Linked DNA regions of Homo sapiens: regions 1, 2, 3, 4, 5 and 6 are each linked to region 7. Evidence: promoter capture Hi-C in 16 types of primary human blood cells and fetal thymus (Javierre and others, 2016). All regions are on one chromosome and are shown on one strand. Each heading gives the region's core, a stretch centred on a gene start or on the middle of the fragment in contact. The rest is flanking DNA. Distances are from core to core; before and after follow the strand shown.

The links. Contacts are between HindIII fragments. The CHiCAGO score rates a contact against its expected background, and 5 or more counts as called.
Region 1: a contact is called between a fragment that was not itself captured here and the fragment with the promoter of NAA30 in region 7, in 1 of 17 cell types (non-activated CD4 T cells). The highest score is 5.1, in non-activated CD4 T cells.
Region 2: a contact is called between a fragment that was not itself captured here and the fragment with the promoter of NAA30 in region 7, in 2 of 17 cell types (fetal thymus and non-activated CD4 T cells). The highest score is 8.1, in fetal thymus.
Region 3: the fragment with the promoter of CDKN3 here is called in contact with the fragment with the promoter of NAA30 in region 7 in 6 of 17 cell types (activated CD4 T cells, naive CD4 T cells, fetal thymus and 3 more); the score reaches 6.8 in activated CD4 T cells.
Region 4: the fragment with the promoter of GMFB here is called in contact with the fragment with the promoter of NAA30 in region 7 in 1 of 17 cell types (non-activated CD4 T cells); the score reaches 6.9 in non-activated CD4 T cells.
Region 5: a fragment that was not itself captured here is called in contact with the fragment with the promoter of NAA30 in region 7 in 1 of 17 cell types (fetal thymus); the score reaches 7.3 in fetal thymus.
Region 6: a contact is called between a fragment that was not itself captured here and the fragment with the promoter of NAA30 in region 7, in 1 of 17 cell types (fetal thymus). The highest score is 8.1, in fetal thymus.

Annotation. Positions count from the first base shown.
Region 1 is chr14:54,506,634-54,510,306 of GRCh38, forward strand. It overlaps CGRRF1 (cell growth regulator with ring finger domain 1), which reads left to right and starts at 3,273. Exons shown (of 6, transcript NM_006568.3): 1 at 3,273-3,430. The coding sequence starts at 3,327. RefSeq lists silencers at 2,934-3,363, 3,163-3,348 and an enhancer at 3,524-3,673. The HindIII fragment of the contact is 561 bases long and covers 1,521-2,081 here.
Region 2 is chr14:55,045,504-55,048,777 of GRCh38, forward strand. SOCS4 (suppressor of cytokine signaling 4) reads left to right here. Exons shown (of 3, transcript NM_199421.2): 3 at 1-3,274. Among named protein-coding and RNA genes, the nearest start is that of MAPK1IP1L, 4.5 kb to the right of the region's middle. The HindIII fragment of the contact is 222 bases long and covers 1,819-2,040 here.
Region 3 is chr14:54,395,632-54,399,078 of GRCh38, forward strand. CDKN3 (cyclin dependent kinase inhibitor 3) reads left to right here and starts at 1,376. Exons shown (of 8, transcript NM_005192.4): 1 at 1,376-1,446. The coding sequence starts at 1,438. The HindIII fragment of the contact is 7,211 bases long and covers 1,065-3,447 here.
Region 4 is chr14:54,487,573-54,490,921 of GRCh38, forward strand. GMFB (glia maturation factor beta) reads right to left here and starts at 1,408. Exons shown (of 7, transcript NM_004124.3): 1 at 1,353-1,408. The coding sequence starts at 1,355. RefSeq lists a silencer at 1,091-1,490. The HindIII fragment of the contact is 2,730 bases long and covers 769-3,349 here.
Region 5 is chr14:55,066,901-55,070,674 of GRCh38, forward strand. It overlaps MAPK1IP1L (mitogen-activated protein kinase 1 interacting protein 1 like), which reads left to right. Exons shown (of 4, transcript NM_144578.4): 4 at 1-3,294. Among named protein-coding and RNA genes, the nearest start is that of MAPK1IP1L, 17 kb to the left of the region's middle. The HindIII fragment of the contact is 854 bases long and covers 1,017-1,870 here.
Region 6 is chr14:55,029,528-55,032,983 of GRCh38, forward strand. It overlaps SOCS4 (suppressor of cytokine signaling 4), which reads left to right. Exons shown (of 3, transcript NM_199421.2): 2 at 2,336-2,464. Among named protein-coding and RNA genes, the nearest start is that of SOCS4, 4.0 kb to the left of the region's middle. The HindIII fragment of the contact is 987 bases long and covers 795-1,781 here.
Region 7 is chr14:57,389,139-57,392,509 of GRCh38, forward strand. NAA30 (N-alpha-acetyltransferase 30, NatC catalytic subunit) reads left to right here and starts at 1,448. Exons shown (of 5, transcript NM_001011713.3): 1 at 1,448-1,567; 2 at 1,819-2,590. The coding sequence starts at 1,820. RefSeq lists an enhancer at 1,432-2,427 and silencers at 1,556-1,695, 1,826-1,975. The HindIII fragment of the contact is 6,905 bases long and covers 1-3,371 here.

The DNA.
Region 1 (3,673 bases), core at 551-3,050, 2.9 Mb before region 7:
GCAGTGAGCCAAGATTGCTCCACTGCACGCCAGCCTGGGCGACAGAATGAGACTCTGTCTCCAAAAAAAAAAAAAAAAAAAAATTAAAAAACAAATAGGTGGGGTACTGGAGAAACTGAAGAGATCGGAGCTGGTAGTCCACTTTCCCTCTAGGAAAGGAGGAGAGGCCTTACATTTGGCTTGCTTCACACCACCTTCACCATGGTGCTAGAGCAATGGCATTCAGTGGCAGAGGTAGCCTGATTGGGCATCCTGAGATAACTGCTGCTTCTCAGTAGCCTGCATGTGACATATGTGAGAATCTACATGTTTACATATTGCCCCAGTAAGTAACATTGGAGATGGTAAGCAGTCTGGTGAGCTAGTGGAGCTAAGGAGCCATAGCTTATGAGGGTTTTACAACCAGAGGTAAATGGCTGGAACCCTGGATCTCCGCAGTGAGGGCTGGCCTGGTACCACAAAAAGCCAGATGAAACCCGCTTCCCCTTAGTGAGGACCTACAGGTGTCATGCAGAGCTGAGGTCTCATTTTCCTGACCTCCACCATCAGGTCATATGAACACCTTGTACAATCAGATACTGTCTTGGGAAGAATCAAGAGAAGAGAGAGGAGAGACTAAACATTTTCCTAAAGGAGACCAGCTTCCTAAAAGGTGCAATTAAACTTGAAGAGTCTAAGATACTTTTTTTTTTTTTTTTTTTTTGCCGGAATCTTATTCTGTCGCCCAGGCTGGAGTGCAGTGACACAATTTCAGCCCACTGCAACCTCCACCTCCCGGGTTCAAGCAATTCTCCTGCCTCAGCCTCCTGAGTAGCTGGGATTACAGGTGCCCGCCATCATGCTGGGCTAATTTTTGTATTTTTAGTAGAGATGGGGTTTTGCCATGTTGGCCAGGCTGGTCTCAAACTCCTGACCTCAGTTATCTGCCCACCTCAGCCTCTCAAAGTGCTGGGATTACAGACGTGAGCCACCATGCCCGGCCTAAGATACTTTTTATTGATAAATTTAAGCTCACATTGTCTTCTCTTTTTACCCCGTCTAATAGTAGGGTGGGGCTTCTTTCTTTTTCTTCTTTTTTGAGACAGGTTCTTGCTTTGCTTTTTTTTTTTTTTTTTTTGAGACAGCGTCTTGCTGTGTCACCCAGGCTGGAGTGTAGCGGCACAATCGTGGCTCACTGCAGCCTCAACCTCCCTTGCTCAAGCAATCCTTCTGCCTCGCCCAGTTAATTTTTTAATTTTTTGTAGAGACAGGGTCCCACTATGTCGCTGACGCTGGTCTCAATTCCTGGGCTCAAGCCATCTCCCTGCCTTGGTCTCCCAAAGTGCTGGCCTTGGTCTTCCAAAGTGCTGGCATTACAGGCATGAGCCACCATGCTGGGTCTAGGGTGGGGTTTCAAGCTAAACTAGATCAGTTATAGATAATAAAGAACAGTCATTCTTCCTGTTCATCTGAGAGTCAAACTTTTTTTTAAAAAACTCTAATATAGATACTTTGTGCTTCCAAGTAATCTCATGGAGAAAAGCTTATTTCATTTATTTATTAATTCAGTAATATGACTACCCGACATATACTAGGTACCGGTGGCACAAACATCAATTATGTGTCATTCCTGTGCTCAGAGAGCTGGGTTCCTAGCAGGCTAAATACACTAGTGAGCAGGTGCTCACACCAGAAATAAGAGGGCTCCCATACAGTTACATACTGGGTGCTTTGGGAGAGGCATCTCCCCAAGGGTTTGGAAGCATCCAGGAAGGCTTGCTGGAGAAGGGAGCCTTTCAGATTGGCCAATATTTTTGTTAAGTGACAATATCAAATGATGGCAAAACTGTGGATGAAAAACTGGGAATACAAATTGGTACATTTCTGGAGAGCAGTGTTTTTACAAAATCTTTAAAATGTACATTTTTTAAAACCATAGTTCCACCTCTAGTAATTTATCCTAAGGAAATACTTTAGCTGTAGGGATGTTCATTGCAGTGTTATTTATAGCAATGAAAAATTCTCCAACAGTTGAGGGCTGATTAAAGTATATATTTTCACAAATCAGATATATAGTAATTAAAAATTGTGTTGTAGAAGCAAGCTTCTCAAACAGTGCTGCTCCAGAGACTACGTGCTCATTTGCCAAGGAATATGTGAGGCCATAGGACAAACTTAGTTCATCTTTCTCAACACGAATTTTACTGGTGATTTAGGAGTGTGACAGAGGCTACTAGTTAACTATCCCAATGTCCATTCTCTTTCCTCCTCAGTAACAAAACTCTTGATTTGTACCAGGGTGTGTTGCTGCTCACGAATAATAAGACTACATATCCCCATTCTCTGATGTGGCTAGATGTGGCTTTAGGAGTAAATGCAAACCAACGAGGTGTCAATGAACTGTTATGAAAGACTTTCAGGGAGGCCACCTTGATGGAGCTGACTCACAGGGTTGAGACAAGGGAGTGACCATTTAGCTACTTTCAGTAATTTTTAAAAAGCTTCTGTGTGATTTAAAAAGTTTTTTAAAAATTATTCTTAAAGTGGAAACAAATACAGTTTCAAATGTTTGGCTAATTCTAATTTGAGGAGTACAAGAAGAGGAGAAAAGGAGGGGGATGTGGGAGGAAGCGGATGCTTTATTTCTAAGAGAATCTTGGATAAGCAATGCTGATTTTCCTCTATGATTAAGTCCAATCTGAAAAGGCTGACAAGTCTCGTATAAATTGCTTGTGGTAGAGACTCCTTTTTTTGTGTTTTCACTGTGCTTATGGTTATTTCATTTTGTAGAATCCAAGATGCCCGCCCTCCTCCTCCTCCTCCTCCACCCTCTCCCAAATTTGCCTAAGATATAATAGGCAGGGTTTCAGGATTTAGAAACGATGCACGTAGATTTCAGACTGCGCCTCTCTCTGACATCAGAAAACCTACATTGCCTAAGGCTGGCACAGAGTTGGCCCCAAAGTCTACTTAGAATTTGCCGGCGGAACAGCAATGACCACTGGGCCACAGCGCTTAAGACGCCCGCTGGGTACCAATCCTGGGAGTCGGGGGCGGTGCGAGTCGGGCCCCCCCCATCCCAGGTCTGCGTAGCCAATAGCTCGGGACGGGAGCGGGAGGGGCGTGGCGTGTCCGGCAGGGGGCGCCGTGATTGGCACGCCAGCTCCCGCTGTCCGCGAGGCTGCCCTAAAGTCTAGCTCATGAGAACCCCAGGCAAGTGCGGACCTACAAAGTTTGTCCGCTCCGGGGCACTGTAGTGGCTTTTACCCTGGCCGGGCGGGCGGGGCTCAGCCGGGCTGGGCTGGGCTCCGCGGCTGGAGCCGGGCTCTACCCAGAGCAAGACCCTGATGGCTGCGGTGTTTCTGGTAACGCTTTATGAATACTCGCCGCTTTTCTACATCGCGGTGGTCTTTACCTGCTTCATCGTGACCACCGGCCTGGTATTGGGATGGTAAGTGTCCCAGGGGTGAGAGACGAAGGGGCGGATACCGCCAGAGTGGGGTCGCGACGAGCAGCAGGGGGCACCGGAGCCGGAGGGCCGCGGGCCGGAGGACGTCGGGGATTCGGTGTCCCCGGGTGCCTAGAACTCCGACTTTCTCTGGGAGGAAAACAAGGTGGACGCTGCACCTGCGTCACTGCCCTGCATCACCGTTTGGTCCGTGTCGCTGGGGCATCTTGGGGTGGTACCGCATTG
Region 2 (3,274 bases), core at 680-3,179, 2.3 Mb before region 7:
GTAATGTGGCTTCAAAAAAAGAAAGCCTTTTGACAGCTACATGACTTACACCATACAGAACAGTACTGGACAAAAGGGGTGATATTTTAAATTTACTATCCCAGAAACAGGGCAACGTTTTTAGAAACATCTTTAGCCCAAAGTAACTAGTAAAAATAAATGGAGTGGTATCCTATCTTCTTTTTTTAAGGAATCAATGAATAATAAATGTAGATAGACAATTTTCTTCTGGTGAGCTGTCTAACCCTTTGTACACATTGACATTTTTAATATCGTAACTGATTTCTTGATGCTAGTTTAGCTATATTAGGAAACTGCTTCTACCTAGATTGAAAGAAATTTGACTCATAAACTTCCAAGTTAGAACAAATATTTCTTCATTATTGTTGCTTTTATGTGAGTAGCATTTCCCTATCTTGCAGTTCTGTTAACATGAAAATGGCATTTTTCCATAATAGCTTTAAAATAATTTTTTAGTAATTATTACAAAATTAAGGAAAATCTCTATTACCGTTATCTTTTAGCATTTTTTTTTTCCTCAGTGATCTCAAGATTGTCTTAGTCTCAATGAGATGTAGCTACAAAAATGGCACCTCTTAGCAGTGATGAGGCTCAGGATATCGGATATCATAACACCAATGTCAGGATAAATATCTCTTCTAAAGACGATATTTACCTTTTACAAGGTTAGAAAAGTCTCATACTACCTCATCTTTATTGTGGCGCTTTTGTAGATCACTGAGAAGCTTATCTTATTAACCAATATACCACTTCCTAAATATCCATCTTTGGTGAAAGAAAATAGTGTGGTAAGAGTACCCATGATTATAGTTTTTTATCAGAATTTGATAAGATTTTCTGTTTCTGTGAAACAATTATTTTAAATATTTTTCTTTTAAAAATAACTTTTTATCAGTACAGAAAAACCTAAGGGATGACTAGCTTACAAATATTCTGTTAAGGGGTAGTTTTATAAAGAAAAATGATATATAGTTATGTTGTCTTTTATAGTGTTAAAATTAGTATTTATATGAAAGTCAAGATCTAAGTACCTTTTCATATAATTCAAACTGATTGCTTGTGATATGTTTTCTCTGGCTTTTTTATTTTTTCAACTTCAAGGTATTAACAGCTGTTAACACTTAAAAAGTACTGCCACATATGTAGCCTTGAAGTAGTTGATCTAATAAATGAGAGCAGGGAGGAGATTCATTGACTCTGAAATGATTTTTATTTTTCCTTTGGTATTTGCTACAGTGAAAAGAAGTTTGGAAAGTAGATACATAAAGACTTGAGAAGGGAATTGTTTAAGGGAAAAGAAAAGAGTAATAATTTTTTTTAAAACATTAAGGAATTGGAATTCAGAAAGGTTACCCCCTTCCTCTGTGTCTTTGTAAGGATACATTTGGAAGAACATACAGTATTCAGAAACTAACCTATATAAAATGTAAACAATATATTGATTGCACTATATAAATGAGTAAATTTTGAGAGGAACAATGTGGGAATGTATAAATTTGTCTAAAATTTTATAACTGTTGAACAAAGGGAAGATTTGAACAGTGTAAATTCCAGAGTTGAGAAAGCATTTAGCATGGTGGAAATGTGGAGAGCTTATTGGTGAGAGAGGATGGAGCTAAGAGAAATAAGATCAAATATTAAAATTAGGAATTTAGGCATTACCTCAGGGAAAAGCCTTGACAGTGAAAAGAAACTACTTAATCGCTAATAGCTAGTCTGGACCAGACACTTAACTGCGCTTTGGGAATCATCCTGGGCTAATCAGGAAATAAACTTGACTTTTCTATTTTTCTCTGAAGCTTTACAGGACATACTCCCACTCCCATTTTTTTCTAAGCCTACAGCATCTTGATTCATAGTATAATTCCTGAAGTATGCTGAATGGACTTTTTAAGGTTCCTTTAGCATTTTTGTATAGAGTTATATGTGATCTTTCTATAACCATGCCATTCACTTAAATAATTCATGAAGGGAATGGTTTAATTTAAAGGAAGACCTAATAGGAAGAAGATTAAAGGAAGCTTTTAGTCAGCCTGTGGCTAGATTTATTGATTTGGTGATCAAACCTGTGCTATTTCCTGAATTTCAGCTAATGGCCAACTGTGGTCAAAGAATGGCTTTCAGTTAAAGTTTTGACTTCTTATTATAAATAATATAAAGAATGTCTCAGTAATTAGAAATCCCTTAATAAGTAGAACAAATGTGGCAAGTAGGACTCCTATCGGTATACAAATTCCATTTCTTTTTATAAGAAAAACACATAAACCATTATCATTTATTCATGAGCCAAAGCCATTAAGAAGATAAATCCAGTTATCAGCTTCCTGTCTCTGAAGTTTGGATCATTTTATAGATCCACGCAATAGAGAGCTTCCTTCCTATGAAACAAAAACCTTGAGATCTCTTTTTTTTTGAGACAGAGTCTCGCTGTTGTCAGCCCAGGCTGGAGTGCAATGGCGCAATCTCGGTTCACTGCAACCTCTGCCTTCCAGGTTCCAGCAATTCTCCTACCTCAGCTCCCAAGTAGCTGAGATGACAGGCGTGTGCCACCACGCCCAGCTAATTTTTGTATTTTTAGTAGCGATGGTGTTTCACTACATTGGCCAGGCTGGTCTCGAACTCCTGACCTCAGGTGACCACCCGCCTCAGCCTCCCAAAGTGCTGGGATTACAGGCATGAGCCACTGTGCCCGGCCAAGATCTAACTCACGCTTACTTTTCATTAAAATATTTCTTGTCGCTTTTAGCTATTGTCAGAATCCAATAAACAGCTTACGCATTCATTTTGGTAAAGCAAATTTCACAGGAAAATAGACAAAATTATAAGAGATTCCTGGAGACAACACAAGGAAAACAATGTTTAAAAGCAAAATAGCCTGTGTAATGTTAGGTAATGTAATGCCCAAGTGAATAAAAGATTTTTCGTCAAGCAAACTACTGTTTCTACTTTGGGGGAAAAAAGTCAGTTTTACATTTGTAATTTAAGGAAAGAACAGAAAGCACAAAGGTTTTTCTTTTCTTTATTAATGGCCTACTAGAAATGAGCAGTGCAAGAGTCTACCTGTACTATTCTAATACAGTAAGATATTGGACACAAAATGGAGGTAACTTTTTAAAATAGATTGGCTTGGAAGTTGAAATGTAGATTAATGGATATAACCCAATAGAAAGGGATTTTCAAATAAAACCAAAGTCTATTTTTTTATTTACTTTCTAATTTTGAACAGATGACTCAGTCCTAAATCTTTGCCTTT
Region 3 (3,447 bases), core at 126-2,625, 3.0 Mb before region 7:
GCACTGGCCTCCCCCCATCAGATTTTGGACTCTCCAAGCTTCCACAAGCACAGGAGCCAATTCCTTAAAATAAATCTGTTTCTATATCCATATATACACATCCTATTCATTCTTTATCTCTGGGCAACCATGACTAGCTAATACAGTCTCTAAATCAAACTGTGGTACCTTCTTTACTAAGGAATTCCTTCTAATAGCTCTATACCCATTGGCTTTCACAACATGAATCAGGGGTTGAAATTTCTGCATATTTTTCTCAGATCTGCTCCAGGCGACTTCCTTTCCCATGGCTAGTTAAATGGGGACTGGAGAAGGCGGAGAAATACTCACATTTTTAAAAGATTACAGCTAATTATGTAGACACACTGGCCCTTAGACCTATCTTACCTGGCATTTTATAATTTCCCTTTCACACAATATAATTTAATTCATATTTGGGGGACAGGAATATTGATCTACACTGTAACTTGTCTAGTTTCTGGAACGATAAACTAAAACTTCAAGCATATAAAATATGTTTATACTCTAAATTTTTAGTTTTTTCCCTAGTATTTGTATGTCTAGATATAATTACAAAGTCTATGTGATGTTTTTCATGTGACGATCCAATACAGTGCTTCCCTGAGCCCTTAAAAAATAAAAAATAAAAATACAACTTAAAGAAACAAAAACTCCCTACCGTAGCCGCTACAAGGGAGGCTAAGGCGGGAGGATTGCTTGAGGACAGGAGTTCGAGGCCAGCCTGGGCAACATAGTAAGACTTCCGTCACAAACACAAAAACTCCCAACCCGGGTTCGAGACCAGCCTGACCAACATGGAGAAACCCCGTCTCTACAAAAAATACAAAAATTAGTCAGGCTTGGTGGCACATCCTTGTAATCCCAGCTACTCGGGAGGGTGAGGCGGAGACTCGCTTGAATCCGGGAGGCGGAGGTGGCGGTGAGCCGAGATCGCGCCATTGCACTCCAGCCTGGGCAACAAGAGCGAACTCCGTCTCAAGAAAAAAAAAAAAATCACCTCCCAACCGTATGGACCACGCTGACATCCTGCCATCAAGAAGCAAAGCTTTCCAGCGTCCCCCAAGCGCTAGGGCCGCCTTCTGACTCTTCCGCCCCGCCTCCGCCCCCTGCACTCTCCCAACTGGCGGGAGGAGGGCGCCCTCCCAGCCAATCAACGTCCCACAGGGCCCGCCTCCCGCGCGTCTTTCAAAGGTCTTCTAGGAACCAGTCAGCGATTAGAGGCCGAGTCTTCGGCCACCCAAAGGCGGAGTAAGAAACCAGAAGCGGATCTGATTGGTTGCTGGAAGACGCCGCGCCCACCTCACAGAAGGACGAACCAGTGAGCTAAGCTGCGGGGCGCGGGCTCGGCCGGGGCACCGGTGAGTCGCCGGCGCTGCAGAGGGAGGCGGCACTGGTCTCGACGTGGGGCGGCCAGCGATGAAGCCGGTGAGTCGGACGTGCTGGGGTTTGGAGGAGCGAGGCGGCAGGGACGCAAGCGGTCCCGGGGACCCGATCCTGGGCCGGAGGGCAGCCCTAGCCTGGTAGCAGTGCGACTGGCGCCGTAACCGTTCTGCGGGTCGGGGAGGTGACTCGCACGGGCCCAGCACGGGCACGAGAGACGAAGGAGCAGGGTCGGTGGCCGACGAAGGAAAGACGGACATTCGCTGTGCACCTGCTGTGGGCTGTCACCTGTCCCCTGCGGGGTCTCATAAGCCTCCCAGCCGCCCAGCCAAAGAGGGCCGAGCCTCGTTGTACCGAGGAAACCGAGCCGAAGAGCTTGAGTGTCAGCGATGAGTGGGCGCGATACCCCAGCCCCGAAGGGTGGCCGGGCGCTACCTGCGCCCACAGGGCCTGGGGAAACCTTGAGTACGAATGCCACGCCGCGGCTTGTGGGCGACACCACCGCTGTCACCATGCCCCAGGGCCACCTGGCAATGCTGCTCTTTTCCCGTGACGTTCAGAATCACAGGGCCTGGGGAAGCAGAAACGTCCAGCTCTGTTAGGATTAATAAACCTGGTGAATGGGCCACACAAATTTGAAATATGAATCATCAAAGTTGCTTTAAAGAAAAAACAGATGCAGGCAAGGAGCTGAAGATCCCCCACCTAACCCATATTTCCTACTGCCCGGCTTGACAACCTACTGGAAGCCTTTCCTTTGGGTGCAGTTGATTATAATACTTCAGATAGAGCCAAAGCAACAGAAATCCATAGCCTAGGGCCGGGTGGTGTCTCGCGCCTGTAATCCCAACACTTTGGGAGGCCAAGGCGGGCGGATCACTTGAGGCCAGGAGTTGGAGACAAGCCTAGCCAACACGGTGAAACCCCGTCTCTACTAAAAATACAAACATTAGCTGAGCGTGGTAGTGCACGCCTGTAGTCCCAGCTACTCGGGAGGCTGAGCCACGCAAATAGCTTGAACCCAAGAGGCAGAGGTTGCAGTGAGCGGATATCACGCCACTGCCCTCCAGCCTGGGCGACAGAGCAAAACCCTATCTCAAGATAAAAGAAAGAAAGAAAAAAAAGTCCGTAGCCTAAATTAGCCGTCCTGTGATCTTCTAGTACCAAGACCGTTGTAGAATATAGCTTCAGAGCTAGAAAGAGCATTAGGTGCTTACAATTGCTAATCCCTATGTTGCCATGTGGAGGGACATCAGCTGTCCTTCACTCCTGGCCTCTTTCTCCACCTGTCCCCATTGAGTTATCTGATCCCCGAGTTTGGAAGGAACTGAACACCAGTATCTCAACTTTTTCTTTCCTTCTTTCTTGGGATCTACCTGCCTGCCTGCAGAAGGTGCTTTCTGGTCCACTCTCTGGCACACAGGAGCCCCAGACTGTCCATGGCCACCTGTGACTGGGTGGATACATTTGTCTAATTCTGGGGTGAACAAGGGGCAAGCCCACGTGGCAACAGCTTTAAGCTGCATACTCCATTTGATATACAATAATAAAACTCCATTTCTTTATCTTTCAATTGGTTTCAACTAGGGAGTGAGAAAAGGGTATGGGTTTTGTTCTGTTTTGTTTTTGTTTTTCTTTTTCTTTTGATTCCTTAAAATTTCAACAAGGAGTGTAGAAGTCTTCCATGTCAAAATGCTGCAGGATTAAGTTCCAACTGCTTAGATCAGCATACGAAGTCTATCTCAATCTCTCTAGTCTAGTGATTCATAAAGTTGGAGGCAGGTTATTTCACCTACACCACCCCCACCAAACTACTAGGCCATGTGGGGATGTTTTTTGAGAAAAGGGGTGGGCAAAACTACTTCATCTCCTCTACTCCATCTCTATTTTGATATCACAGTTCCTCAATACACAAGCCCTTGGCTTAACTTCTTTCCTTTCTTTTTTCTTCTTCCTTTTTTTTTTTTTTTTTTGGCAGAGTCATGCCCTGTCAGCCAGGCTGGAGTGCAGTGGTGTGTTCCTGGCTCACTGCAACCTCTGCCTCCT
Region 4 (3,349 bases), core at 158-2,657, 2.9 Mb before region 7:
CGTGGTGGCACATGCCTGTAATCCCAGCTACTTGGGAGGCTGAGGCAGGAGAACTGCTTGAACCTGGGAGGCGGAGGTTGCAATGGGCCGAGATCCCGCCATTGCACTCCAGCCTGGGCCACAAGAGTGAAACTCCGACTCAAAGAAAAAAAAGTACATACAGATCTGGATTGGATCTCAGAAGCAAGGTCTTCTGAGCTGTAAATTCACAAGTCATCTGAATATAGATGGTAACTGAAGCCATAGTTTAGGATGAAGAATACAGAATGGAAAATGAAGGATTAGGATGAAACCTGGGACTCCTTCGAGCATTGTCCAGGGAAAGGAGAATAGTCTGAAAGGGAAACAGATGGACCAATAGGAGAAGTAGGAGGAGCTCTGTATCCCAGAAGCCAAAGGGGAAGAATGAAGGAAGAGAATGCTTCAAAAACAAGAGAGTATAACACTCTGGAATGCAGCTAAAAGGTCAGAGAAGACGAAAACTGAAAAGAATCCATTCGATTCAGTGACCATGACAAGATCTATTCGATGAAAGTGGGCTGAGAATTGAGTGGATGGTCACAGAGAGCAGTGTTTTGTTGTTTCTAATGAAATTTACCCATATTTTAAAACCTAATGGGATGGATCCAAAAGATCCTTGATGGCGATTTATTTAATTTTCCACTTTATTTTTATGCTTGGGGTCCATCCCATGTAAGAACAGAAGCCACAGCCCCCAGAACCAACAAAACTAAAGTTATTGACAATTACTTTAAGGCCCAGTGCCAAAGCTTTGGGTCGAAAGGTTTCCAACTGCCATAGGAAAGCAAAGATAAGGAGAAATCCTCTGTAGGAAGCTAGGGAAAGGAGCAGAGAGAAAGAAGCTAAGGTGAGGCCGAGAGAATTCAATCGGAATTCGAGTCCTCCCCCAAAACGCCGCCAGGTGGAAGATGCTCGGGGCCCACCAACCCCTGGAACCTGGCCACGGCCCTGGCAGGGAAAGCAGGAATTGAGGGAGCCCTCCGATGGGGCAGACCCCTTTCCCTCCAACCTACAGCTCAGAAGCTGAAGCCCTCCAACCAGAAGGACCTGGCGTGGGGCCTCCCCAACCCCCCTGCTCGTGGCCGCACCCTAGTCCCATGGCCCGCTGGGCGGGTCCACCCCGGGCCCAGCTGGAAGATGCTGCCCTGAGGCGTGGTGGCGGCGGCAGAGGCCAAGTACTCTAGCTATGGGCACTGGCCAGCTGCTGGGAGCGGAAGCGGCCGCCGAGCCCTCCTGGGCGCTGCCCGCCGCCGCCGGCTCCGGAAACCGGGAAAACCCGGCTGGCCGGCTCGCCCAGCCCTCCGGCCCCCGCCCTCCCAGCGGCAACTCACCATTTTCCTTCCGGCCGTCAGCGGCCTGTCGCCTACACTCGGGCGCCTTTAAGAATGGCACGGCGGCCGCCTCCCTTCCTGCCCCGGCGCCTGGCCCAGTCGCCCCCACCTATCAACGCGGCCTCAGCGGGCCGGCACGTGATGGCGGACGGCAAAAGGCGCGGCTCAAAATTAGACAGAATGCGATCGCCTGATTTTTTTTTTTTTTTTTTTTTTTTTTTTTTTCTTTTCCCTGCTCCCTCTAGAGGAGGACGCTCTGCCTGGCTGCAAGTGAGAAACAAACCCAAGGTGCATACTTAAAAGTCATGCCAGTTCTCCGGACCTTTTTCGCAGTCTTCAAGCTCTGAGAGCATGTTAATGGTGACATCAATGTTTTCAATGGTAAATGTGTGTACTGACCGCAGCCTACCTTCCAAATTTGATCTCCCTCAAATCTAGGCACACCTCCTTTCCTCCCACCCTCTCCAGAACCCCACTTCTGACCACGGCTGCCTTCCAGGACTTGGTTAATCAATCTCTCTCTCTCTCTCTCTCTCTTTCTCTCTCTCTCCCTCCCCCTTTCCCTCTCTCTCTTACACACATTTCTTCTCTCTCACACACACACACATTTCTTCTCTCTTCTCTCACACACACACATTTCTTCTCTCTCTCTCTCGTCTCGCTCTGTTGCCCAGGCTGGAATGCAGTAGCACGATTATAGCTCACAGCAGCCTCAAACTCCTGGGTTCAAGCAATCCTCCTACCTCAGCCTCCCCAGTAGCTGGGACTACAGCCGTGTGCCACCACACACCCGGCTAATTTTTAAATTTTTTTGTAGAGATAGAGTCTCCCTATATTGCCCAAGCTGGTCTTGAACTCCTGGCCACAAACAGTCTTCCTGTGTGCCTCCCAAAGCGCTGGGATCACAGGCGTCAGCCACCATGCCCAGCCTCTTTTCTCCATACAAGTTATTTATTGAAGTATGAATGAATGATGATTGGTGTTTCAATGAGCACTCTTATGGGCCACTGCCTAAGTAAACATCAAGAAGTCTCTGTACCAGATGCAGACTTAGTGGAACAAGTCCAGTTTTGAATGCATGAAGAAAGTGGTTTGGGAGAAGTAAAGTTTAGGCTCTAGGATTCAACAGGTACCTTCAATAAAACAAACTGCCTGGGGCAGTACCTCATTTTGTTATGACCATGGGTTCTTGGTCTCTCAATGCAAATTGACCTGAGGCCAAAAGAGTTTCTCCAGGCAAGGCTTCATTGGAGCTTATGCCGGAGCATAAGGGAGGCAGCATAAGAGAATGAGAGAATTCCCTGACTGACTCTCCTAAAAGAGCACAACAAATTAGGGGTAGTTTATGCAGGTCAGCATTATCTGTTTGCCAGGGTTGTCTTGAGTAATGGGCCACCCAATGGTCTGGTTTGCGGCAACAAGGCTGTGAATCAATTGTTCAACATTCCTCTCCAAGGTGGGACACTCTCAACCTTGGTTATCTCCTAAGGCCAGTCATTGGAATTCTTTAAATAAAAGGACTATTAGCAGTAAGGTAGTGGTGTGGGTTTGTCATGAGTGGAAATGCATGAAAAAAATGCTCTAGTGTGGGTGAGCTGAAGCCAAGCCCCATTTCTACTGTTTTTCATTTCCCCTTATAAGATTTTACCTTCCTTATTCTTAAGGAGAAAGGGCCAAAGATCTTATCTTCTAAAGCTACTTCCTGCTGAACAGGGTTGTCATCCCTGCTTAACCCCGGGGGGCATGGAAATCTCTCACCGACTGTTCTACAGACTTGAAGGGACTTGGAATAGTTGAAGCCTGGAAGACATAAACTTTAACAACTGTACCCCTATTGAATATAACAAATAATTATTTTAAAAGCCAAATAGCACCCAGTGATAACTAATAAAATGCTTAAGCTCAGTTTAATAATGATTGTAGGAAGAGATTAGATGCCATTTGGAATCTAAGTGAATAGTCTCCTGTTGTCTGAAATATAAGGCAACAGACTTTTA
Region 5 (3,774 bases), core at 194-2,693, 2.3 Mb before region 7:
TTTTTTTTTTTTTTTGAGACGGAGTCTCGCTCTGTCGCCCATGCTGGAGTGCAGTGGTGCTATCTTGGTTCACTGCAAGCTCCATCTCCCAGGTTCACACCATTCTCCTGCCTCAGCCTCCCAAGCAGCTGGGACTACAGGTGCCCGCCACCATGCCCGGCTAATTTTTTTTTTTTTTTTTTTTTAGTAGAGATGGGGTTTCACTGTGTTAGCCAGGATGGTCTCGATCTCCTGACCTCGTGATCTGCCCGCCTTGGCTTCCCAAAGTGCTGGGATTACAGGCGTGAGCCACCACGTCCGGCCGATTTTTTTTTTTTTTTTTAATGTAAGAATGGAGATAAAAGGGATAATATAATTTGCTTTTATATTGTTATTTTTGTAAAGCATCTTTTCTTCAATTCTTGTTGGCATTCTGGGCCAAAATATTTCAGGTTGGTTCGGTGTGGAGTTAAGAAAAGCAGGCGTTTTAGTGGAGAAATGGGGAACAGCATCAAGAAAGGCTTTTTTCCTTTTTTCTTTTTTTTTTGGAGACAGAGTCTTGCCCTGTCACCCAGGCTGGAGTGCAATGGCGTGATCTTGGCTCGCTGCAACCTCTGCCTCCAGGTTCAAACGATTCTTCTGCCTCAGCCTCCCAAGTAGCTGGGATTACAGGTGCCCGCCACCACACCCATTTTTGTATTTTTAGTAGAGACGGGGGTTTCACCATGTTGGCCAGGGTGGTCTGAAACTCCTGACCTCGTGATCCGCCTGCCTCAGCCTCCCAAAGTGCTGAGATTACAGGCGTGAGCCACCATGCGTGACCTTTTTTTCTTTTTAAAAGGGAACAATGTTGCTTTCAAAACAAGACATGCTAGGCTGAAACTGATTTATGGAAAAGACTGCTTGTTAGCAAGTATATTTGGTCTTGAGGGGGATACAGATTATAGAATATGCTGACATTTGGGCTTCAGAGGAAGAATTTTCAAATCTAATGGAAATAGTTGAGGTGTTCAGGAATGCTGTTTCTTGGAGTTGGAAGCTTAGGTTTTGAAATGTTGAAACCAAAAAGACAAAAATTAAAACATAGACCTTAGGTCGTCATTCACACCCGGTTCTCAAGAATCAAGTGGAGCACTTCAAAGACCTTGGCTTGTCTGTCCCATCCTGCCACTTTCTCATCTTTTCATGCTTTTGAAGACACCATTTACAGCTCTGACTCAGCCCTATTTTGTGTAAAGTAATATATTGATTATTCAGAAATAGACAATACATTTTTTAATTACCCAAGGACTGACTGTTTTGTGCATTTTACTGTTGGTTGTCTTCAGTAGAGAATAGTAATAGGGCAGAGAAAAGTATATATTTTGCCTCAGTCAGTCCCACCACCACAATGGACTATTGGGATATTTTCTAAAAAACCAATCAATTTGCCCATGATTACCTCACAAATAATTAGTGCTACCTGGGGTACTCTCAAATATACAGCTTTTGAAACTGTAGATGAAAAAAGCTCTACTCAGAGTTTTTGTCAAGACTGTGCCTGGGTTGAATATCAGTCAATTGCCTACACTTCTAAACAATAAGTGCCAATGTCTCAATTTTCTCACCCTGAATGATAGAAGCTAGCTTTATCAAATGCCAAGGTTAGAAAGCCTGGAAATAAAACTTAAGCACAGACATTCAAGTTTTTGAAAAGCATAAGCCTAAATTCAGATAAATCACACTGATATATTGTACTATGCATAGAAAGTTGTAGGTGGCGTTCAGGGAAGACTTTGATTTTAATAAAGCAATATTTAGTATTGAAGACAAACACTTTTTATTTTCAGATTTCTGCCAAGTAAAACAGAAATTGCCAATAAAATAATCAGTATTTTGTAAATGGCAGGCAAGCTTCTGGCTGTCGAAAACATCTGAGTCATTTATTCAGTAGACAATATGTCCTTGATCCAGGTTCTTTGCCAGCTATAAGGGAATCCCTGTCCTTGAGAGGCTCATAGTCTATAAGTAACATTACAGAATTTGTTAGCATACCCATTCATTATTAGTTTTACCTAAACGTGTTAGGATCACTACTGGTGGAAATTGTAACCAGCCTTTGGGCATCTTAAAGGGTGACATGTGGCATGCCTTTTTTTTTTTTTAAGAATTTAATGTTTTTCAAGATTGTAGTGTTGATCAGCGCAACAATTCAAGTGTGCAAAGTAACAGGATAGTTTGCCTCTTCACTTTACCCCTGGATAAAGGCACTTTCACTGCCTGTCACTGATCAGCAGATACTGACTTGTTGCCATTAAGTGAACTTGACTTCTTATGTGTGCTCTATGAGTTTGTTGTAATTTTCTTCTTGAAATTGTGATTTTTCACTGACAGTAATGACAAATTTAATGTATGTAATTGTCTATGCATTTTAAGTTAAACTGCCTAAAATGTGATTTGAGACATATACATATGTTTGTATTATAAATTGTAAGCAATCAGTTTGAGATACTAGGTTTTATCACCTGCTGCTGTATTTGTAAACAAAGACAAATGTTGCTTTAAGAAGTAATTATAATTAGGAATAGGCTATGGATGTGATACTTGGTATTTTTTAAGATAAACTTGTTTGCTTTTGTGTATTATACCTGGAAACTTTTTTTAAAAAATGTATTTTCATGGTTTCACAGATTTTTCATGTTATTTTATTCTTTAGGCCCAATTCTGGGCTTCTCTGAGCAAGTCCAGAGCCTAATTAACTGTAAATTTGTTGTCAAAAAGGAAGAAAAAAGGGCCTGAGATACCTCTTTGCATGTGACCTGCATTCACTAAGGATATCTGGAAACCACCCTTCCTCCGCAAACCCTCTCAGCAACATGGTGTCCATTGTGGTGATTTTCTCTTCTTTTAAGGCTAGGCTACTCTTGGTAACCAGATTATCCGTATATATGATAATATGAAGTCAGGGAACTTTCTCTGTCTGTCCCTACTCCCCTCACTCCCCCACTTTCTGTTATGAAAGATAGTTCTACTTTTATCATTAACTGCTACGCATTTAGTGAGGGTCACATTATTAAACTTGGAGTTTACCATTTTCCCACAGGAGATTTCGCTGGCATTCCTTGGAACTCCCAATTTCAGTAGGGCAATGAATGAATGAATACTTTGCAGTGCTACTTTTGGAAGGAATTTCTGCTTTTTGCCTTATGATTGGACAAAATGCAGCTGTAAAATTTTAAATTGTTTTTGATATGTTATTCAATATCCCATGAAAGTATTCACCTAAAGTGGAGTTATGAAATGGATGGTGAAATAATAAGACCATTCTGGAGCAGGGCCAGTTTCTTTTTTTCCTGTTGTGAGATGACATTGCTCTGACAAACATGCTATCGTGGGTTACCTGACCCAGGCAAGTCCTTTTTTATCACCGTATTAATACTCTTAGCACCAATCCTTTTGCAACTGATCTCCAAAGCAAAATAGAATTCTAAATCTTAGCTCACTTATTTTAAATAAGGCATGCAATAGAATTCGAGTGCCAGGAGAGGATTTGGGTCATCTCATAGAGCTTATTCCTGTGGCTTTTACTTATTTTTGGGACAGTCTCACTCTGTCGCCCAGGCTGGAGTGCAGTGATGCAATCTCTGCTCACTGCAACCTCCGCCTCCCGAGTTCAAGCGATTCTCCTGCCTCAGCCTCCCAAGTGGTTGGAATTACAGGTGCACACCACCAGTCCTAGCTAGTTTTTGTATTTTTACTAGAAATGGGGTTTTGCCATGTTGACCAGGCTGGTCTCAAACTCCTGACCTCAGGTGA
Region 6 (3,456 bases), core at 38-2,537, 2.4 Mb before region 7:
CATTCTACCAATGATGGTATTACCTATATAAAATCATGTGATCTTACAGGATTTATCTAAGAGGATATATCAGTATTGGCTTATGGAAGGAGTTTAAAAAATTATTTTCTAGTAAAATATGTACTTGGTGTAAAAATGATTAATCTTGTGAAAGGTAAGGCTAGAAGAGTGTAACAATAGCCAAGGAGACCAAAGTATTGAAAAAAGAAACATTGAAGGCACTTTAGAAATGTGAAGATTTTTATATTTCCAAATGTGTCCTGAAACTTACTAGCCTATTTAATAATTTTGGGGTAAATAGTACTTGTCTGTATGTATACTTAATATGATATAAAAGGCAATACAGTAAAAGTCGTCCTCCTACTCATACTCCCAGCCATCCAGTTCCCCTGGCTAAAGACAGCCAGTATTTGATTCTTGTATTACATTAACACTAGATCCTTACTACAGCAAGATGAGATAATCAGTGTTATATAGATAGAAAAACAGAAAAGTTGTGATTTATCTAGTCTTTATCTAGTCACACACCTGCGAAATGTCAGAGCTAGAAATAGAACCCAGGTCTTTCACCTAGTCCAAGGTAGTCTACCGCACTGATTCTCCAAATCATAGCTGTTGCCACAAAACTTAGAATTTAGTAAAACATAAAGTGTAGAGTCACCTTTTACTAATTTGTACGTAAAACTTGTTACCCAACCTTAAATGTAAGCATATGTAATTGTTATAAAGCAGTGAAGAAAATATAATACAATCTTATAAAATCTTTGCCTGTTTCTACTTAAATCTATTTACTAAGCTTCTAAAAAACTACAATTTTTTGTTTTAAAGAATTTAAAACTTTTTAAAAATAATATATTTAACATCAGGAATAATATAAAGTGCTTTGTGATATTTCAGAAATGGAAGAGCCTCCTTGACTTCAGATTTCTGAGGCACGTTTTTGTGCAGATTTTCTAGCCTTACATATAGCCTTTGTTTCCCCTCCCCTTTTTCTTAAAAAAATAGTGTTCTTTAAAAAAAGTGTTCCCACCTCTCATTTTTAGAAATGTACTTCTTCTAACATGAAAAGTTCTGAGTAATACTAGGAAGCAGTTAATATTTCTTTTCATTAAGTTCAGTGTATGTTGTTTTCATACCTTTTACTCCTGGCAGTAAAAACATGAGGTAGCTGGCATTATCCAGATTTTACAGTGGGAGAACTTAAGCTAAATTAGATTTTTTTAAACCAGGTAACATACCTAGTGAGTGGAAAAGTCTGAATTGTAGCCCACATTTGACAGTTCAGCAGCTCATGCTATTTCATCTTCACCATGTTTATTTTCAAATATGGTATAGTGAAAAACAGTGTAGGTTGTTAATTTTTTACAGATCTTTAAAACTTTAAAATTTTCTCTTTATGCTTAATTGGTCTCACAAGAAAAAAGAATTCAAGGAAATAAGCCAAAATGTCAAAATTGCTTGCTTTTAAATAATGGAATTATAGCTTTTTTCCCCCTCCTTTTTAAACTTTTCTGAATGGTCCATGTATTATACAATGAGCATATATTGTTTTTATCATAACAAATTACAGATTGGAAGAAAAAATAAATCTGTTCAATCTAATTTATTCCATAAAATGGTTCAGTATTATATCTTAAATATTCTGTTTCTTAAATTCTGTTAATCTTCCTTCTGCTTTTAGAAGTTCAGGTACTGCCAGCTCGTAGTTTCTGCTTTCTTCACTCTAGATTAGCCCCTTCAGTGATGGGTTCCTAGACCTCTCTCCTTATCTTTAGCTAATAAGCTTAGGGAATGTACACTGATGTTAACAGATTAGCCCATTAATGTTTCCCCAAACTTTCTTCCACAAAAGGATTTATGGCAAAGTAAAGACAGGAAGCTATGGTTTATGCAGATTTCTTTACTGAAGGATCTCCTGGGAACGTTTGCTAAATATGCACTGTAATCTTTGAGAGAAGAAGCATTTCCCAAACTTATTTGACAAGAGAACCTTTTTTTCTCCAGAATATGTGTTAACATCTTTCAGAACTAGTGTCCACAAGAGTACAGAGTGGGGAAAAGTGACATAAGCAAACTATAATTAGGAAAGCATGGAAAAAGTGGGGAGAAAGGGAAAGGAGGGTGTAGTGCTACTAAATCAATGATTCTTTTTTAGAAAATTGCAATTAAGTCCCATGAGCCCTGGCTCAGTAGCATGAAAAAAGGAGATACTTTAAAATATTTACTGGAAAATGAACCTGTATTGCTTCTGTAATGAGAAAACATTTGTTTTTTAGGTCAGATATTTTCCCATACAAACAAACCTGTTTTCAGATTTTTTTCTTAACATTCCAAGGAGTTCATCTGTTGTCTGCTCTCCAGTGACTTCCGTTTGTGGAGCCTAAGTGTTTCTACAGAATCCAACTCAAATATCAAGGACTATGATCAGAATGCTTTCAAGGAGTTTTTGGGCACATGATGGCAGGTAAACTTTGGAATCATGAATTTCGTAGGGAAAGTCCCCAGGCTTAATTACTACCAGAATAATAATATATTTGTGAATTATTAATGTAGTATACTGAATTATTCTTTATAGGATCAAATGTATTCCAATTTAGTATTTACATTAGTTGTGGTGTTAGATGTATGTCAGCATCATAGACATAAGTAGTTCAATGAATAATTAACGTATGCAATAATGCTGTTATCCTACATCATAGAGGATACTAATTAATTTCCAGATAAATGAAGCTTATCCTTTTAATTATTGGATTTGAATTGTTTCCTGTAGAAATTTTGAATTAAAATCACCTTCTCAGCCTTAGTCAGTATTACTAAATGTTATTTAAATATTTTGTAATGAAAATTGACATAATGGGCACTCATTTTGTTATTGTTGTCATTGTAATTTGTGGTAGAACCTGGGACCAAATAGTGGCAGAATCTGGGTACTTGTTTTCTTGAGAAGGCTTTTATATAAACTTGCTTTTTAAACATTTGCTTTTTGCTCATTAAGAAATATGACTTAAAAAAAAAAAGATGTCATTCTGTACTCCCCAGGGCAATGTAACATAGCTGCCTTCGTAAAAAATTAATTATTGAATCAAGAGCCAAAGCAGCCTTTTCCCAAGTGATTCTTTCACCTTCTTTTTAAAAAGCTTTTTTGCAGCTACAGTCAAAGATCTTTGATTTGTCACCATCTTTCAAACCATCATCTTTGATTTCTGTGTCACATGAAATTGTTGGTAAAGCCACCTTATTATTATTCTACCTCATGTATACAAAGTTTTTTTTTTTCTTTTGAGACGGAGTCTCACCCAGGTTAGAGTGCAGAGGCACGATCTCAGCTCACTGCAAGGTCCGCCTCCTGGGTTCATGCCATTCTCCTGCCTCAGCCTCCCGAGTAGCTGGGACTAGAGGCGCCTGCCACCACACCCGGCTAATTTTTTGTATTTTTAGTAGAGATGGGGTTTCACC
Region 7 (3,371 bases), core at 198-2,697:
TGAGGCACCGCACCTGGCTAGAGACTACATGACTTCTAAGGCTAGGTTATAATGGGTAATATGCTTCTGATTGACTTTCTCGCACGATACTTGCCGTGGAACCCAGCCACCAGGCTGTGACAAAGCCCAAACCAATCAATGCTAAAAGACCACCGGGAGAGGTCTACATGGACTAGAACTGAGGCCTCCAGCCTTTATCCTGCATCAACCATCAGCGGTGAAAGTGAAGTTTTCAAATAATTCTACTCCTCAGCCTTAGAGTCTTCCAACTGAAGCTCTACGCATAATGGAGTAGAGAAAAGCCATCCCAGTTGTGCTCTGTCTGGATTTCAGAGGCACAGAATCTGCGAGCATAATAAATACTTTATACATAGAGTTTAGATTACGGCAAAAAGTTGCAAACGTGTTCCGTCATAGAATTATATATTGAAAACGTCCATCTGCGGCACACCAGACCAGCTCTATAAATCAGGTTTTTAACAAAACCGAATTTGTTCAGTGAGCGGGTGAGTTACACTACCTGTCTCAGCTCAGACCTGCCGGGAGTCAATTGTGGACTAGAGCAGAAGGCGCCCAGCCACAAGCTCAAGTTCTATCCCCTTTGCACTCGATAGGCAGATCCCCTGGGAGGATCAGGCCACCTGTTTACCAGTGCTTCCTAACCTATTTGTGTCACAAGTTTAGGAGTGTGCTTCTTAGCCCTGGTCACTCTCTTTCACCACCTCTCTCTAACCCTTCCCCAGGTGTGCTAGCAATTGCCCAACACCTGTCAGTCACTTTTGCCTCCAATTTTACTGGGTGCGAGGAGCAGAGTAAGGAGGGAGAGGAAGAGGGCTGACTCCCTTGCCTCAAAGTGGCAAGGGCCAGCTGAACTTAATTCACACTGCAAACCACCACGTTTCGACAGCCATCCCCATATTTTCACAGCTCAAATCTTCCTTTCTTTTTCGGTCGGCTTCTCTGATTTGCTCCATTTTTAATCGCTCCTCCCCCATCCTCCTTGCCCCTGGTCAGGGCAAACATTAAACGCTGTGCAGCTTTAAAAGGGCATTTTTAGGTGACTTGTAAACGGCTTGTTCCACAGGCCCCGAATTGGCGAGATTCGCTACAGCTCGGAGTGCGCGGTAGACTTTAAGCAGGGAGCGCCTGCCCGGTCCATCCCTCCCCGGCCCCGCGTGGCAAGCACCGCAGGTTGAGGCGCCCCCAAACCGAGGAAGAGGGTTTGGGAGCCTGTGACTCCAAAGCCCTCTGCAACTTCCCGGCCCCACAGCCCCACCCACTAGCACGCGGCCTTCCCCGCAGCCCGCAGGAGACACCTTTGTCCCCGCCCCTCCACAGGTCACCTCCCTCCACGCCCCTCTCTCTTGGCCCGGGCAGCCGGCAGGCAGGGAAGTGTCGTAAAGCCAGGCCCAGGAAACTTTACCCGGCCTAACAGCTGAGGCGCTTTACGGCGACGGCGGCTGAGTGAGAACCTTGGCGGCTGTGGAGGCTGCCGCGGCTGCGAAGGAGGCGGCGGCGGTGGCGGAGGAAGAGGAGTGGCGGCAGCGGCGGCGGGGACCCGTGCGGGGTGAGCCGTGAGGAGGGGCCGCGAGTGACAGGGCTGGCGGGTGGGCCCGGGCGGACGGGGACGGTGGCCGGCTGAGCAGCTGGGCGGCGCTGAAGAGCGGGGGGGTGGCGGGGAATTGGGGGGCAGCTCCGTGAGGGACGGTTTCTGCCTTTGTTCCCCCCACCTCGGCCGCCCCCCATCCGTCGCCCCCTGTTCTCCGCGCTCCTCGGCCGGGTTTCATGGCCTCCCCTCTCGGTCTGTGTCGCTTCTAGGATGGCGGAGGTACCGCCTGGGCCTAGCAGCCTCCTCCCACCACCAGCACCTCCGGCCCCGGCGGCGGTCGAGCCCCGCTGTCCCTTCCCGGCGGGGGCCGCCCTCGCCTGCTGCAGCGAGGACGAGGAGGACGACGAAGAGCACGAAGGCGGCGGCAGCAGGAGCCCGGCGGGCGGAGAGTCGGCGACGGTGGCGGCCAAGGGGCATCCGTGCCTCCGCTGCCCTCAGCCGCCGCAGGAGCAGCAGCAGCTCAACGGATTGATTAGCCCCGAACTGCGGCACCTCCGGGCGGCCGCCTCCCTCAAGAGCAAGGTCCTGAGCGTAGCAGAGGTGGCCGCGACCACAGCCACCCCTGACGGAGGCCCCAGAGCGACTGCAACAAAAGGAGCCGGGGTACACTCGGGCGAGAGGCCCCCTCACTCCCTCTCTAGTAATGCAAGAACTGCGGTCCCCAGCCCGGTGGAGGCAGCGGCGGCGAGCGATCCCGCGGCGGCCCGCAATGGACTGGCCGAGGGCACCGAGCAGGAGGAGGAGGAGGAAGACGAGCAGGTGCGGCTGCTGTCTTCGTCCCTGACCGCCGACTGCAGCTTAAGAAGCCCTTCGGGCAGGGAGGTTGAGCCTGGGGAGGATCGGACGATACGATATGTCCGATATGAATCCGAGCTACAAATGCCCGATATCATGAGACTGATCACCAAAGATCTGTCCGAACCCTACTCCATTTATACCTATAGATATTTTATCCACAACTGGCCACAGCTGTGCTTCTTGGTAAGTGGATAGAATAAAAAGAGGGTGAACCCAGCAGTGATCGAGACTGTGCGGGGCAGGGAGTGAGGGCCCAGAATGTGGCAGTGGATATCTCCTGCTGCGTATCATAGTACGTTATATGATGTCAAGTGCTGTACACATTCCTAGTTATTTAATGAAATTGTTTTGAAGGTAAGACTTCATGATTCGGGTTAACGTGATACTAGTGTAACTGCAGCAAGCCTGTATGGTGGCGTGTTTCACTGGGGTGGGGGTCTTGTGTCTTGTTTACATTAGATTATAATCGTGTTTAACCGTCTTTAATTACCCGCCCGCATCCTCAAACACTTTACAGTCATTTAATTTGAACATGGTTCTGTTCAGATACAGGCCTTATTAGTCTCTCGATTACAACCATAATCAGGGAAGAGTGTATGCATAAACATGTTGTGGTGAACATGGATGTCAGCAAACTTGGTGTGGTCATATTGGAGAATTAAATCTTACAAGCATTTTCGGTAATTATGGAGATGTTTCTCTTTACTTCAACTGGACAATTAACAGTTGTAGCCAGCCTGCTTTCTGGTACTCCATTCCAGAAAGCGCTACTAACACTTCTGGTGGCTGAAAGACTCCTGAAACTTGAACAAAATACCCTTTTGTGGAATGTAGAAAACTTGTGTGAAATTGTTACCGATCTGATTTTTTTTTTTTTAATTTAAGAAACTGGTTGTAGATGTGGCCAAACACTAGTAACACTGGCTTGTGTAGAGTATAATTGACAATAATATTACACGTAAGT